Regions from separate parts of the Homo sapiens genome. Here regions 2 and 3 are each linked to region 1. Evidence: promoter capture Hi-C in 16 types of primary human blood cells and fetal thymus (Javierre and others, 2016). All regions are on one chromosome and are shown on one strand. The core of a region is centred on a gene start or on the middle of the fragment in contact, and the rest is flanking DNA. Distances in the headings are between cores, read along the strand shown.

What was found. Contacts are between HindIII fragments. The CHiCAGO score rates a contact against its expected background, and 5 or more counts as called.
Region 2: a fragment that was not itself captured here is called in contact with the fragment with the promoter of SERPINB8 in region 1 in 1 of 17 cell types (non-activated CD4 T cells); the score reaches 5.0 in non-activated CD4 T cells.
Region 3: a contact is called between a fragment that was not itself captured here and the fragment with the promoter of SERPINB8 in region 1, in 1 of 17 cell types (monocytes). The highest score is 5.2, in monocytes.

What each region holds. Positions count from the first base shown.
Region 1 is chr18:63,967,735-63,972,446 of GRCh38, reverse strand. It overlaps SERPINB8 (serpin family B member 8), which reads right to left and starts at 2,366. Exons shown (of 7, transcript NM_002640.4): 1 at 2,277-2,366. It overlaps LOC105372165 (a long non-coding RNA gene), which reads left to right and starts at 1,943. Exons shown (of 3, transcript XR_935576.3): 1 at 1,943-3,124; 2 at 4,174-4,460. It also overlaps a transcript of HMSD not described here. RefSeq lists silencers at 1,665-1,884, 1,955-2,014, 2,025-2,224 and enhancers at 1,698-1,992, 2,285-2,454, 2,485-2,534. The HindIII fragment of the contact is 1,474 bases long and covers 1,862-3,335 here.
Region 2 is chr18:63,159,027-63,163,738 of GRCh38, reverse strand. The region is part of intron 2 of BCL2 (BCL2 apoptosis regulator); the gene reads left to right. Among named protein-coding and RNA genes, the nearest start is that of BCL2, 160 kb to the left of the region's middle. RefSeq lists enhancers at 1,509-1,558, 1,759-2,048, 2,139-2,378, 2,789-2,908, 4,624-4,712. The HindIII fragment of the contact is 5,416 bases long and covers 1-4,712 here.
Region 3 is chr18:63,447,371-63,452,082 of GRCh38, reverse strand. No RefSeq gene overlaps it. Among named protein-coding and RNA genes, the nearest start is that of SERPINB5, 27 kb to the left of the region's middle. The HindIII fragment of the contact is 4,924 bases long and covers 419-4,712 here.

The DNA.
Region 1 (4,712 bases), core at 1,117-3,616:
GTAGTATATTAGTATAATGGAATACAGAACAATAAAAACTGAAAGAACCATATCTATAAGTTCTTTAGTTTTTGACATGGACAATTCCCACAAATAATGTATTAAAGGATTAAGCCACAGAGTAATACAGTATTATTCCATATACGTAAAGTTCAAAACCAGGCTAAACTAAATCATTCTGGATGCATGTGTAGACAGTAAAACTATGTCGTTATTATCATGAAACTCAGGAAGGTGGTGATACAGAGGGGAGGGAAGCGGATGTGATGAGGGAGGAGGGTGTGATCAGTAGGGAAACACGGCCTCCAGCGATGACAATATTCCAGTTATTAAACTGGGTGATGGGTTGTACTGCTGTTCTTTATAATTCAATACACATTTTAAATGTTCTTTTGTATTTATTCAATAGGTAATGAAACTTATTAAAACCACATATCAAAAAAAAAAAGAAAAAAGAAAAGCCGGGCAGGCATTCCGTAGGTGGTGAAATGGGGGATGCAAATAATAGGCTGAGGAATTAGCAGGTGCCAAGAATGTGGCAGGAAGACAAAGGGCATGGTTTGTGTGGTGCCCCTGGGGTGGGTTTCTATGGTTTCCTGTGAGCCACGTGGTAGTGAGATAGGACGGACCCTTATGCCACATTTAGGAGTTTGAACTTGAGATTATGGTCTGGAAAGCCATGCATGGTTTTTAAACAAACGTCTCATATGAGTGCATTGGGGCTTTAGAAAGATAACCCGGCTCAGTATTTGGTATGAAAAGAGGCTGGGGAGCTGGCGCGTAGGCCACCACCATGGGCCAGGGACTGCTGAAAGCAGAGGGATTGTCTGCAATAGAGAAGTGGGGGCTGGAATTGCCAGGCAGTGACTGCTCACATAGGGACAGAGCACAGGAGGGCCCAGTCCCGAGGCGCCTAGCTGTTATAAATTCATACTCAGGGTGGGTCGTGAACCACTGGAATTTTAAATGAGGAGTCAGGCTGGAATGGGGAATATGACTTGTTCCATTTGAGATGCGTGGAACACACCATACCAGGTGAACCTGTAACAAAGACAGCCAAGGATGTTTGTAAACAGTTAGGGACGGGGATGAGTAGACTGTCTAGAGCCAGAGACCTGGAGCCATCAGCATCCCGATTCCGAGAGGTTCCATGAGAATGGATGAAACTACACAGAACATCTAGTGGAGGCACAAGGGAAGAAATCCACCTATTTCTGTGGAATTTCCAATATCTGGAGGTAGTAAAAGGAAGAGACAGAGGAGGGCGAGGGGAGAGCGCGCGCGCGAAACGGAGACTGAGACCCAGCCATCAGGGTGTGCTGGGAGAACTGGGGAGACGAGTCTGCCCCTGCGAGTGGACCCAGGGAAGAGGGCGCGGTCTACGCAGAGCCCGAGGCAGGGAAGCGGGAGGGGCCCGGAGAGCAGCCCTGGGTGAGGCCCTTTGGAATGGAGAGGTCTCAGGAGTGAAGCAGCAGCCAGAGGACTGAGAGTGTCTGGAAAGTGAGGAATTGGTTAAAGTAACGCCGGTGGCTGCAACAGAGAGGGGCGTAGGTGAAGAAGCACCCCCAACCCCATCCCATTTGAGAGGAAGCAGACAATGAAGAAGAGAATATGAAAGATACAGAAAGATGAAGGCAGGGGTGGAAAGAACGGAGGGGGGGGACAGGAAGGGAAGGAGAAGGTGCAACCAATAGGCTGTAAGCACAGGGGCAAGCTTGGGCGCCAGGGGAGCAGGGACTCGGCGCCTCCCCGATCTGCCCCAGGCGCCACGGAAATTCCAGGCCCCGCCACCCGCACTCCCGGAGCCTCCTCCGCAGCGGCGGCTCCTCCCACTCGCCCTCCCGGGGCTCCCGCCCAAGCTTCCGGCGCTTCCAAACTCACTGCTCGCGTCACCCCCCGCTCCCATCCGGCAGCAAATCACAGCGCAGCAAATCGCAAGCCTAGAAACAGACGCTCCCTCTCCAGGGGCAGCTTCCTATTCAGGGCGGGTCTGGGCGCACCTGTTCTCGGGACCCGGCCCTCGGCCTTCGCCGGGTCTCGCGGTGGGGCTTGGGACCCCGGCTGGTGCCAGGGCGACCCCCACAGCCCCGCGACTCTCTTTCCCGGCCGCCTCCCGCCGTCATTCTCCTAGTTCCTGCCCGCCTTTGCCTCGCTCTGATTCCTGCTCTGGCCTTCCTCCCTTCCCCTCTCTCACGCACTCCAGGGAAGAGGTGGCCTCCGCGGGAACCTGGGCACCTCCGTGCCTGCCCCGCCCGGTACCTGGCAGAGGCCCCCACCTCCTGCTGCTGCTGCTGCTGCCGCCGCCGCCGCCGCCGCTGCTGCTTTGACTATTCCTCCTTTGTAGATGCTTCACGTCCGCCTTGATTGAGGGCAAGGCTTCCGGCAGATGACTCAGAACCGTTCGATTGCTCTGGCTTGTGCAATCCCTGATTCTTTGGGCCTGTGTGGATGTCTGTGGGCACCGGAGAGAGGGCCAGTGCCTGGTCCTTGGAGGGTGGTTTTTATAAAAAGTGTACACATTGGCTATTGTCCTTTTTTCACCGTTGATTCACGTTTGACTCCACTGTAGTTAGACGTCCACCCAAACATTCTCTGAAATTGCTCCTGATAAGGATACTAATCATTTTCTAATTGCCTTGGCCAAAAAATACATCCCAGGTCTTATTTCATTTTGTTTGTTGGCGACATTTAGCCCTTTCTTCTTTGACCTTCCCAGGATTTCCAGAGCACCCTTCCCTTCTTTCCTGACTCCTTTGCTTGGTATCCTGATTCCTTTCCTACCATTCTAAGCCCTCTTCTTTTCATTATAATATGATCTTCTTGTATGACCTCCACTATATCCATAGGTTCATGTTTCAACTTTTAACTTATTTCTTCAAAATCTCTAACCTGTCTCGAGCCGTAGATGTTACCTGTGTACTACTGGACATCTCTCAGAAACCTGGGTGTGTCCCTCCGCAGTTCTTTTAACTAAATGATCAACAGTCCTGTTACTTCTATCACTTTTGTGTTCCTCCTGTCCATACTCTGTCACCTCTATCATGTCTCATGTCTCTCCTAAACAATTAATTTTCCTACCTACAGTTCTGATCCATGCCAACCTATTGCCTACTCTGAAGTTCAGGTAAACATTCCAATTCTAATTATTTTATACCTCAGTTTAAAATCCTTTATAACATCCTCTTATCCAAAAAGATAAATTAGAAACTATTGAGCAAGGAGTGTAAGCCTCTTCACGTCTTGATTTCTCCCTTCTTTTCTTTAGAGCCATAGCAAATTATTTACATTCCTTCATATCCTCTGTTCATATACATGGGGTTCCTGGCATGCAAGCTTGTCTTTCAAAATTCAGTTCAAATAATGTCTCCTGCAGGAAGCTCTCACAGAGCTCTCCAGTTTGGGAATTCTGCTTTTAAAGATGCACATTCCCACTCTGCACCCCAAACCAATTAAGTAAAGATCTCTTGGAGGAGGGAACCCAGCAGCAGTATTTTGTAAAACTCGCTCAGTGATTTCCCTGTGGAATCCTAAAAGTAACTGTTCCCAAGAACTCTCCTCAATAAGTCTTGGTGCAGGATTCACCCCCATCTTTTCTCCATGACTTTGAAACCCCTCTCTCTAGTGGCTACAGACTCACATTTGAACTGTGCCCAAACTTACCGGCTCTGCCAGTTGAAAATGCCAAGGTCACTTCCCCATTGTGCATCAATTTCTCCTTGTTGGTCAGAACTAGATCCAGACTTTGGGCCCCACTTTGTCCATCCACTCCTTTTCCTCTTTGACCAGCAAAACAGATTAAAAGATGAAAAATGCTTGTTTTCCTCCGTGAAACTTCCAGCAAATGCCTGGTGGTTTGAAGTCCTTTACAAAGGATATAATTTGGCCCCTGGGAGTTTGGTTGTAAACACAGATATCCCATGTAGGAAACACAGTGCGTGCAGGTGCAAAGAGGCACAAGATAGCACCATGAAAACCATGACGTATCCAGGCCTGCAGTGGTACAGATAGTGTGGATGAGGCACTGCAAGACAACGTCTGATGTGTCCACAGGGCCATGTCGTGAAGGCCATGTGGACGCTGTTGGTGGTGTTTCTTCGTTCCCTTGTGGACTATGGGGAAACACAAAAGGATTTTAAGCTGGGGAGAAACATAATCATATTTGTATTTACGAAGGTCCCTCTGGCTGCAACATGGAGTATATTGTAGGAGGGTACCATTGCCTGCAGTGAGGCGTTAAGGACGCAGCATGGATGAGAGATGAGGAAAGCTGAAATGAAACAGAGGCAGGAGAAATGGAGAGGAGGACATGGCCTTGAGGAATTTCCAGGACATAAATTTGGCATCACTTCTTGGACCATGAGAGGAAGAGGGAGCAGGAAGAATCAAAGATGAATCCAAGAATGAACAAATCTAATTTTTGAAATAATGCAATGAAAAGTAGAACTGGTCTGTTTTCCTAGGTAAGGAATTTGTCTGCAAGTCGATATTCACGAGGATTAATTGTATTTATTTTCTGAGTATGGACAATTTAAATGCTGGGCCCTGAAGGGAAACCCATCTCTCAGAATAACTAAAGCCCAATTTCAGAGTGAGCCTGAACAGGCTCCCCACTCCACCCTGGCCCACTGGGGACACAACAGGTAACTGATAAGGTTCCAGAGTATATAATTCAGTGCCTCAGAAACTGTCCTCAGCCTCATCTTCTGTCTTCT
Region 2 (4,712 bases), core at 1,122-3,621, 810 kb after region 1:
AGATGAATGGATATTTGTTAAGTGCTTAGATCAGTGCTTGTACACAGTGCTATATAAATGACTATTGTTGTGTGTTTTTTTTCATTTTACTGAATATCCAATACATTATTCCTCTCCACATAACTTCCTACTAGGATAAAAAGTAAAGTTTCTCTTTCAGGCAACATGCAATCAAATTTAACAGCTGGCCAAAAGTTTAGTAAGACCTTGCTTATTACACCTTTTTGGCAATATTAAAATAATATTTGTTTCAATCTAAAGGTTGCTTCATCTGCTGTTATAGGGCTAGGCACTGTGGGGCCAATAGGAGTGAAATATGTGATACCCCTCCCAAAAGAACTTGCAATCAAACAATATTGGAAAATATAAGAAGTGATATATTAGGTAGCAAAACAAAACTGAAGAGCAGATGTGATGAACTATTGGAGAAGTTTAGGAGATGTAGACATTAGTGACAGCTTGAATGGTCAGGTGAGGAAGGTAAGGAGATTTTCAGGTGGGATGAGCTGAGCTGGAAGAATGGGTTAAGATTTGGGTGATGAAGGTAAGAGTGCTCCCAGAAGGTAAAGATACAGACAGTGGTAAGGAAGGGTGGCCAGCCATGGTGACTCACACCTGTAATCCCAGCACTTTGGGAGGCCGAGGTGGACCAATGACTTGAACCGAGGAGTTCAAGACCAACCTTGGCAACATAGCCAGACCCCATCTCTACAAAAACTAGCCAGACATAGTGGCACATGCCTATAGTCCCAGCTACTCAGGAGGTTGAGGCAAGAGGATCACTTGATCCTGGGAATTCAAGGCTGCAGTGAGCTATAATTGCGACTGCACTCCAGCCTGAGTGACAGAGCAAAAGTTTCTCAATTTAAAGGAAGGAAGGAGGGAAGGAAGGAGGGATGGAAAGAAGGAAGGAAGGAGGGAAGGAAAGAAGGAAGGAGGGCAGAGTTTGGGGGTTTGGGAGGGTGAAGGCATGGAAATGAAGGCTCTGGTGTCTTCCTTGGAGGAGCAGTGAGGATGCTGCCCTAGTGGTAGCCAAGGATTAATTGTGCCAAGAGCATAGATGGTGCTAGAAAATCAGGCGACAGTAGCTGGATTATGAAGGTCTTCACAAAGCAGGCAAATGAGTTCAGATTTGGTTTAATAGAAAATAGGAAGTGAGAAAGAGGTAAGAAACACGATCTAGAATGCTGGCCAGCTGTGTCACCCGCGTGCCTGCCTGCACCAGTAGTGTCCCCGAGCTGGGCCTGACACCATTCTTTGGTGATGGTGGAATAAAGGCAAGTTGAAGAAATAAAAACATGTTCATATATGTGAGTTCCCAAGACAAACCACAGCAGATCCCAGGAATGTGTTTCTGATTGAGCAATGAAGACGTGTTGGTGGGGTTTTGGTTGGGGTGGGTGTGGGTGTCATCTCTGTTTCATGAGGTCTAAATTTCTACTGGCTCAGAAAAAGAACTTTGAGCAGTTTTTTGTTTATATGGGTCATCATCGTCTTCAATTTTTGTGGAGTTTTCTCAGAGCTTCTTGATGGTCTGCTAATACTAAAATAAATATATTAGGCCTTTTGCCTGTCTCTTCTTTTCTGTCACTGGGTGATGGCCTTTGTTTCCTCTAATGGACACATTCCAGATTTGAGTGCGGAGCGGGCAGTCCCTGGCTGCTCATGTCTGACATCGTTCCCTCCCTGTGTAGCAAAGGGAAATCAACAGCACGTGGGAGGGGGAATCTGTGTTCTAAGAACTGCTTTGGTTTACACATCTATAGATAACACTCAACCAGCACTGCAGGTCACATGGACCGGCTGGTGAGGCTGAGGATGAGTCACTTTTAAATTACTCATAGAGAAAGAAATATGTTTCTGAAAGCCAGAGTGGTTGGCTTACACATGGAGGTAAGAGAGAAAGCAGGCAGCTTCATAAAGCACTCAGACCTCCTGTGACAGCTGACGTGGTGTGTAGTGCGTCAGGTGGGAAGACGGGGCCCTGCGTCCTCAGCAATGTATTTGGAGGTGAGGCTTTTTGTTGATGGGAACCCCTGTGCTGGGACTTGGGGGTATTTAGGATACATTTCCATCTAGCTAGACTTTCTCTTACAGTCCCACTTTGTAAATGGCCCTAGGACCCTTGATTAACTTTCAGTAACACAGTCTAGTGGTGAACACCAAGCCATCTGAGGCTGAAATATGGAGAAGTATGTCAGTCCAACAGAAGGTCAGATGGGGAGGGGCGAGGGAGCTTTCAGAAAGTCTTGGAGTACAAGGGCCTCAGCTGAGCCTCGAAGGTCTTCATTCGTTGCAAAGAAGAAGGAATTCTGTCCCAAGCGAGATGGAAAGATCATCTGAGCAAAAAGAAAGCATCAGTGACAGAGGCTGCAACTTCATTTCACTGGCTGAGTCTAAATTTTTTTCACAGGAAAAAATATACAGAAGACAAGAGAACAATCACCAAGGAAGCCCAAGGCACTGCTTACTAAATTGGTCCAAGGGGGGGATTTCACCAAATGCAAATGAACAAAGAACAATACATGTGACTCAAAATATCCGTTATGCTCTTAATACTTACGAGAGGGTGTGAGGCAGGGAGGTGACCTTTTCAAGGGTTGAAAGCTGTCAACTTTTCAACCACATTGTTTTCATTGCTGGGAGATTGAAGACAGGATCACCTCAGGGTACCATTTTGGAAAAGTGATTTAAAAAAAATTAAAAACTCCTTCCTGCATAATGTTTTGGGACATTTTGAATTGTTTTTGCCGTGAAGACATAGAATTCAGGTGTCCAGGAAATACTGCAACCTTTTATGAGAAATGAATACCCAGAAGTCTAGAGCTGCCTGGCACTCACTCTGGCAGGTCTTCCACCTCTGGTCCCTCTCCAGCAGAAGGGCTAGTGAGCAGTTTAGGACCCCTGGAGCAGGGGTACCCTTACCCCCACCCCAAAGGAAGCGATGTGGCTTTTTTCTCGCAGCCCCGCCCCCATCCCTTTGACAGGTCACTAGAACAACAGAGTGCCCAAGTGGAGACAGGGAGGAATGTGATGGTTGGAGGGACCTAAAAATAACCATTTTTCCCTCATCCTGAATGTGCTACCCTGGGCCAGACATTCCCTGAAGGGCTCCTCTGAAATCTGGGAAACAGGAAATGCTAAGAAAATCTCTAATTTGCCTGGTCATGTGAACTCCTCTCGGTGTTGAAACAGAATTTTGGAAGAGGGGACTCTGCACTGTGGTTGAGCCCTCCTAATCAGAGAACATTTGCCCCTATGAGAATATGGTGGATGTGACTATTCAGCCTCAACTTCCCTCTTTCTAAACATGTAAACTCTGATGCCTAAAGAACAAAACCAGAAAAGAAACCCACTCGGTCTTAGTTGCGTATCTGAGTGCCGACAGGGCGGCTGAGAGGGGCCCACGTGCCTGTCGCTAAAAAGCCCCTTTGGCATTTCATAACAGGACCCAATCCCGCAGACTTGTCTGTGCAGGCTCACGCACCATCTTCAAAACCTTTACTACCTGTATTTGTAGTAGATGATTAATGATTAGGCTTTCTTCCCACACATTTGGCTTTGATAATCTCCACTCAAAAATATTCAGATGCAAATAATTTAAAAACAAAGTGGCTCCAAGGGCTCTTTCTGGGAGGATGGAAATGCTGCATATCTTGATAGGGGAGTGAGTTAAAGGGATGTATGCCTTTGTCAATATTCATAAAACTGTACACATGATATATTCATTTTGTTGTATGTAAATGATACTGAGAATGAAAACTCTTAAGATAATAAAGTGGGTTGAGTTTGGAAACCAGAAAAAGTGGACACGATGTAAATGACCCCGCTGAAAACGATTCGAGTTGGCCAGCAGAAACTAAGAAATGCGTACGCGTGGGCAGTCCCCACTGTGCGGGGAAATCTTTGCAAGGTGAGCAGATTCAGCTCAGCTCATAGAAACTCCAGCTGATTCTGCACATTCATCTGTGTTTTTGTAGGTGTTTTTGGTGTCTTTGTGTCCATTTCTGTTTGGCTCATTTCCCTACTCAATTGGATTTTGACTTCTATTTCCTGAATACAACACCCCCGCAATACCTAATATCCCAGGCCTGTGAAAAGTGAATGCCTAATAAATGTCCACTCACTCACTGAGATGGACTGCTTCTCCTGTCTCTGTTACATTCTATCAAAATTAGCCAGTGCATTTGGCCCTAAATGCATTTGTAAAAATGGAAAGTAAAAGGAGAAACATTCATACTTGTACTAGTTTTGAGAAAATTCCCAGTTATCTCTGCTTCTAAAAGAAATCCGTTTCAGAACTTTTACTTGGGAAAAATTGCTTTTGCCTAACAGGAAAAATAAAACATAGACTCCAGACGCAGTGATGTTCGTGTGAAATTAAGAAAACAGAGTTAATGTTGATGTCTTAGTGGAGGCGAAGGTACGCTTCCTTTCTCTCTTTTTCCCCCTTTTCAAGGCAAATCAGAAGACCGGGTGTGGAAATTCCTGCAGGTTTGCTCTGTGTCGGTTTGCACGTTTGTAGATGGAGTTTCATGCTTTTTCTCACTAGTCAGTCTTTTTGTCATCATCTCATCTTGAAACTAGAGAGGAAGGGAATGGAAGGGCAAATTGCTAATATCAGAGACCTCTGGAAATTCCCCTTTTATGGTACATGAGTATTTAAGAACAGTTCTCTTTCAGTTGTGTTTTTGTGATTTTGGTGACACTCA
Region 3 (4,712 bases), core at 1,631-4,130, 520 kb after region 1:
ACTGTGTACATTATTTCCTTCAGTGCTACATGTTGGCATACTTCCAGGGTCTTGCATCCCTTCCCCTGTGATTCTTCCCTTGGTATGAGTTGTCCACATATGCAGTGGCCTGTCAGCACTATGTGTTCCCAGACTATGAGGAACGAGGGGAGGGACCTGCGCACTGGGAGATAAATTGCTTGTTGAAACTGCACTGGGTGTGCCTGCCCATCAGACTCCCAATCTTGCAAGACCATCATTAAAAGTCTCACTCTCGCTGTTCTGTGGGTCTTTGAGACCATTCTTTGGGTTTGGACAGGTGAGTTTGTTTCTCATAACACCCTAAATCAGAAGTCAAACTGCACACTTGATCTCTCAAGTCACCCACTTGGCCCTCTTCCAAGTGTATTTTACTTCCTTTCATTCCTGCTCTAAAGCTTTTAATAAACTTTCTCTCCTGCTCTAAAACTTGCCTCAGTCTCTCCTTCTGCCTCATGCCCCTCAGTCGAATTCTTTCTTCTGAGGAGGCAAGAACTGAGGTTGCTGCAGACCCATGTGGATTTGCCACCAGCAACAAATTGATTTCACTTTCTATTTTTTTGAGATGGAGTCTCACTTTGTCACCTGGGCTGGAGTGCAGCAGTGGGATCTCAGCTCACTGCAATCTCTGCCTCCCAGGTTCAAGCAAGTCACGCCTCAGCCTCCTGAGTAGATGGGATTACAGGCGCGTGCCACCATGCCCAGCTAATTTTTGTATTTTTAGTAGAGACGAGGTATTGCCATGTTGGCCAGGCTGGTCTCGAACTCCTGACCTCAAGTGATCTCCCCGCCTCAGCCTCCCAAAGTTCTGGGATTACAGGTGTGAGCCACTGCTCCCGACCTGACTTCACTTTCTTTCCACATAAGCAAAATTCCATATAAATCAGCAACACTGTTTTTACCCATTGACAAGGTTGTGTCCAGTTCATCGATCATTCCTCAGGTTACACGCACGTGACCTACCTAAGTTTATAACACAATGCTTAAAAACAGATTTCAATGGGGGCAATTTCTTATTAAGGCATTTTGATAATCAGTTGATTTCAATTCTAAAACTAAATTAAATTTGTTTTTCTCTTAGTGGAAGGAGGCAGCAAGATATATAGAAAAGGCCTTTAACTCCAGAATCCAATGATGGTTTCAGTGCTCAAATTAATAATGCAACTTTTCTAAGCCTTGGGTTTTTTAAATCAAAAGGTAGAGATAATCATACCAATGTCATAGAATTGTTGTAAGGTTTAAATAACGATCTTAAATCATGAGTAAACACCACTCTTCCCATGCATGCAACTGAATGCCAATATCGCCCTAGACATTTGGTCGTCTAGCTAGGATCCTCCCTTCCCTGGCTTCATGTTAGAATCACCTGGGAGTATTTAACGAATACAGTTTCCAAGCTCTACCCCCAGAAATTCTGGTGTAATTGATCTGTGGTGGGGCCCAGGCGTCATTATTTTTTTAAGGTTCCCAGGCGAAGTGAGGAGCCCCTCTGCCCGGCCAGCCGCTCCCCGTCCGGGAGGGAGGTGGGGGGGTCAGCCCCCCGCCCGGCCAGCCGCCCCGTCCGGGATGTGAGGGGCGCCTCTGCCCGGCCGCCCCTACTGGGAAGTGAGGAGCCCCTCTGCCCGGCCAGCCGCCCCGTCCGGGAGGGAGGTGGTGGGGGTCAGCCCCGAGCCCGGCCAGCCGCCCCGTCCGGGAGGTGAGGGGCGCCTCTGCCCGGCCGCCCCTACTGGGAAGTGAGGAGCCCCTCTGCCTGGCCACCACCCCGTTTGGGAGGTGTACCCAATAGCTCATTGAGAACGGGCCATGATGACAATGGCGGTTTTGTGGAATAGAAAGGGGGGAAAGGTGGGGAAAAGATTGAGAAATCGGATGGTTGCCGTGTCTGTGTAGAAAGAGGTAGACATGGGAGACTTTTCATTTTGTTCTGTACTAAGAAAAATTCTTCTGCCTTGGGATCCTGTTGATCTGTGACCTTACCCCCAACCCTGTGCTCTCTGAAACATGTGCTGTGTCCACTCGGGGTTAAATGGAGTAAGGGCAGTGCAAGATGTGCTTTGTTAAACAGATGCTTGAAGGCAGCATGCTGCTTAAGAGTCATCACCACTCCCTAATCTCAAGTACCCAGGGACACAAACACTGCAGAAGGCCGCAGGGTCCTCTGCCTAGGAAAACCAGAGACCTTTGTTCACTTGTTTATCTGCTGACCTTCCCTCCATTATTGTCCTGTGACCCTGCCAAATCCCCCTCTGCGAGAAACACCCAAGAATGCTCAATAAAAAAAAAAAAATTTTAAATAAAATAAAATAAAGTTCCCAGGCAATTATAAATCACAACCAGGTTTCAGAATCAATGGACAGAAGAATTCTCAAATTGAAATCTAGAAATCAATTTCAACAGAATCACCAGGGTTGATTACAGAATGAGGATTCCAGGGCAGAGCCTCACCCTATGCTGACTGAGTCAGAATTTCTGGAAGGAGCCTTAAAATCTTTTTTTTCTTTTTTCCTTGGGTGTTTTTGAGATGGGGTCCTGCTCTGTGGCCAGGCTGGAGGGCAGTGGCACAATCTCGGCTCACTGCAGCCTCTGCCTCCTTTGTTAAAGCGATTCTCGTGCCTCAGCCTCCCTAGTAGCTGGGATTACAGCCACACGCCACCACACCCAGCTAATTTTTGTATTTTTAGTAGAGACGGGGTTTCACCATGTTGGCCAGGATGGTCTCAATCTCCTGACCTCATGATCTTCTCACCTCGGCCTCCCAAAGTGCTGAAATTAAAGGCATGAGCCACTGTGCCCAGCCAAAATCTTCATTTTTGACAACTTCCCCAGGCAATTAGAATGTATACTAATTGCCTAATTTATTTATTTATTCATTTATTTATTTATTTGAGACAGGGTCCTGCTCTGTCTCCCAGGCTGGAGTGTGGTGCTGCTATCTTGGCTCACTGCAGCCTTGATCTCCCCAGACTCAGGTGATCCTCTCACCTCAGCCTCCCGAGTAGCTGGGACCACAGGTGCACACCACTATGCCCGCCTAATGTTTGTATTTTTTTGTAGAAGTGAGGTTTTGCCATGTTGCTCAGGCTGGTCTCGAACTCCTGGGCTCAAGCACTTCGTCCACCTCAGCCTCCCAAAGTGCTGGGATTACAGGTGTAAGCCACTTCACCCAGCCACTACTTTTATTTTTCTTTAATATATGGAAGTACGGATTTATAACACTGTGAAGCTAGACATTGTTATGATATTTTTACAGATGAGAAAACTGAAATTCAGAGGAGTCCAGTAACCTTCTCCAGGTTAGGTGGTCCCCATCACTAAGAAGTGGTCCTCTTTAACTCGTTTGTTCCATGGCTGCTCTCTCAAGTGATTCCTTACTGAGTCATGAAAACCATTTCCCACTCCCCTCTTCTCTCCCACTACCTCATTAAAGGAATTGTTTCTGGCCAGGCGCAGTGGCTCACACCCGTAATCCCAGCACTTTGGGAAGCCAAGGTGGGTGGATCACCTGAGGTCAGGAGTTCAAGACCAGCCTAGCAAACCCCATCTCAACTAAAAATACAAAAATTAGCCGGGTGTGGTGGCGGACACCTATAATCCCAGCTACTCGGGAGGCTGAGGCAGGGGAATCATTTGAACCCAGGAGGCAGAGTTTGCAGTGAGCTGATATTGTGCCACTGTACTCCAGTCTGGGCTACAGAGTAAGACTCCATCTCCAATAAATAAATAAACAAGATGTAACCATTGGGGGAAACTGAGTGAATGGAGGCCCTCCGTACTATCTTTGCAATTTCCTGTGAACCTTTAATTATCTCAAAATTTAGAAGTTAAGAAGAAATACAGTGAAGCAACTCCAATAAGCGGCATATCTAGCTTGTTTAGAGCAGGCCCAGGATGTGTAAGAGGTGCACATTCTAGAATATATTTGAACGTAAAGGTAAAGGAGATGCCCCTGGTCCCCACATCATGATGCTAAAAGTGCATTATCTTTTTTTTTTTTTTTTTTTTTTTTTGGAGACAGAGTCTCGCTCTGTCACCCAGGCTGGAGTGCAGTGGCGCGATCTCAGCTCACTGCAAGCTCCGCCTCCCGGGTTCACGCCATTCTCCTGCCTCAGCCTCCCAAGTAGCTGGGACTACAGGCGCCCGCCACCACGCCCGGCTAATTTTTTGTATTTTAGTAGAGACGGTGTTTCACCGAGTTAGCCAGGATGGTCTCCATCTCCTGACCTCACGATCCCCCCGCCTCGGCCTCCCAAAGTGCTGGTATTACAGGCGTGAGCCACTGCGCCCAGTCAAAATGTACATAATCTTAACACCTGTTCTGCAGTGAGAAGCTCTATGAAGCCCCAAAGACCAAGGAAGCTGAGAGGCCACAGAAAGAGGCTGATAAATCCAGTTTCTCAGAAAGAAACATGTCATAGGGGCTTAGGAACAGAAGCCATGTTCCATGCAGCCCTGAGATGGTGGATCCCACCCTGATACCTTCCAGACCCAGGGCTTATATACCATAGGGCATTTGCCTAAGGGAAGGATTTATGGTAAGTATGTGTTTATGATAACATAAAGGTTGTTTTGACCTAAGGGCCGGATTTACAGTAACTATGAGAGATTAGAAATCTTAGAGGTATTCCCAGAACTTGGGTTAATCAGAAGTCATCTTGGGAGATTAGTATCCAAGATACAGTTGCTGTAGCCTCCAT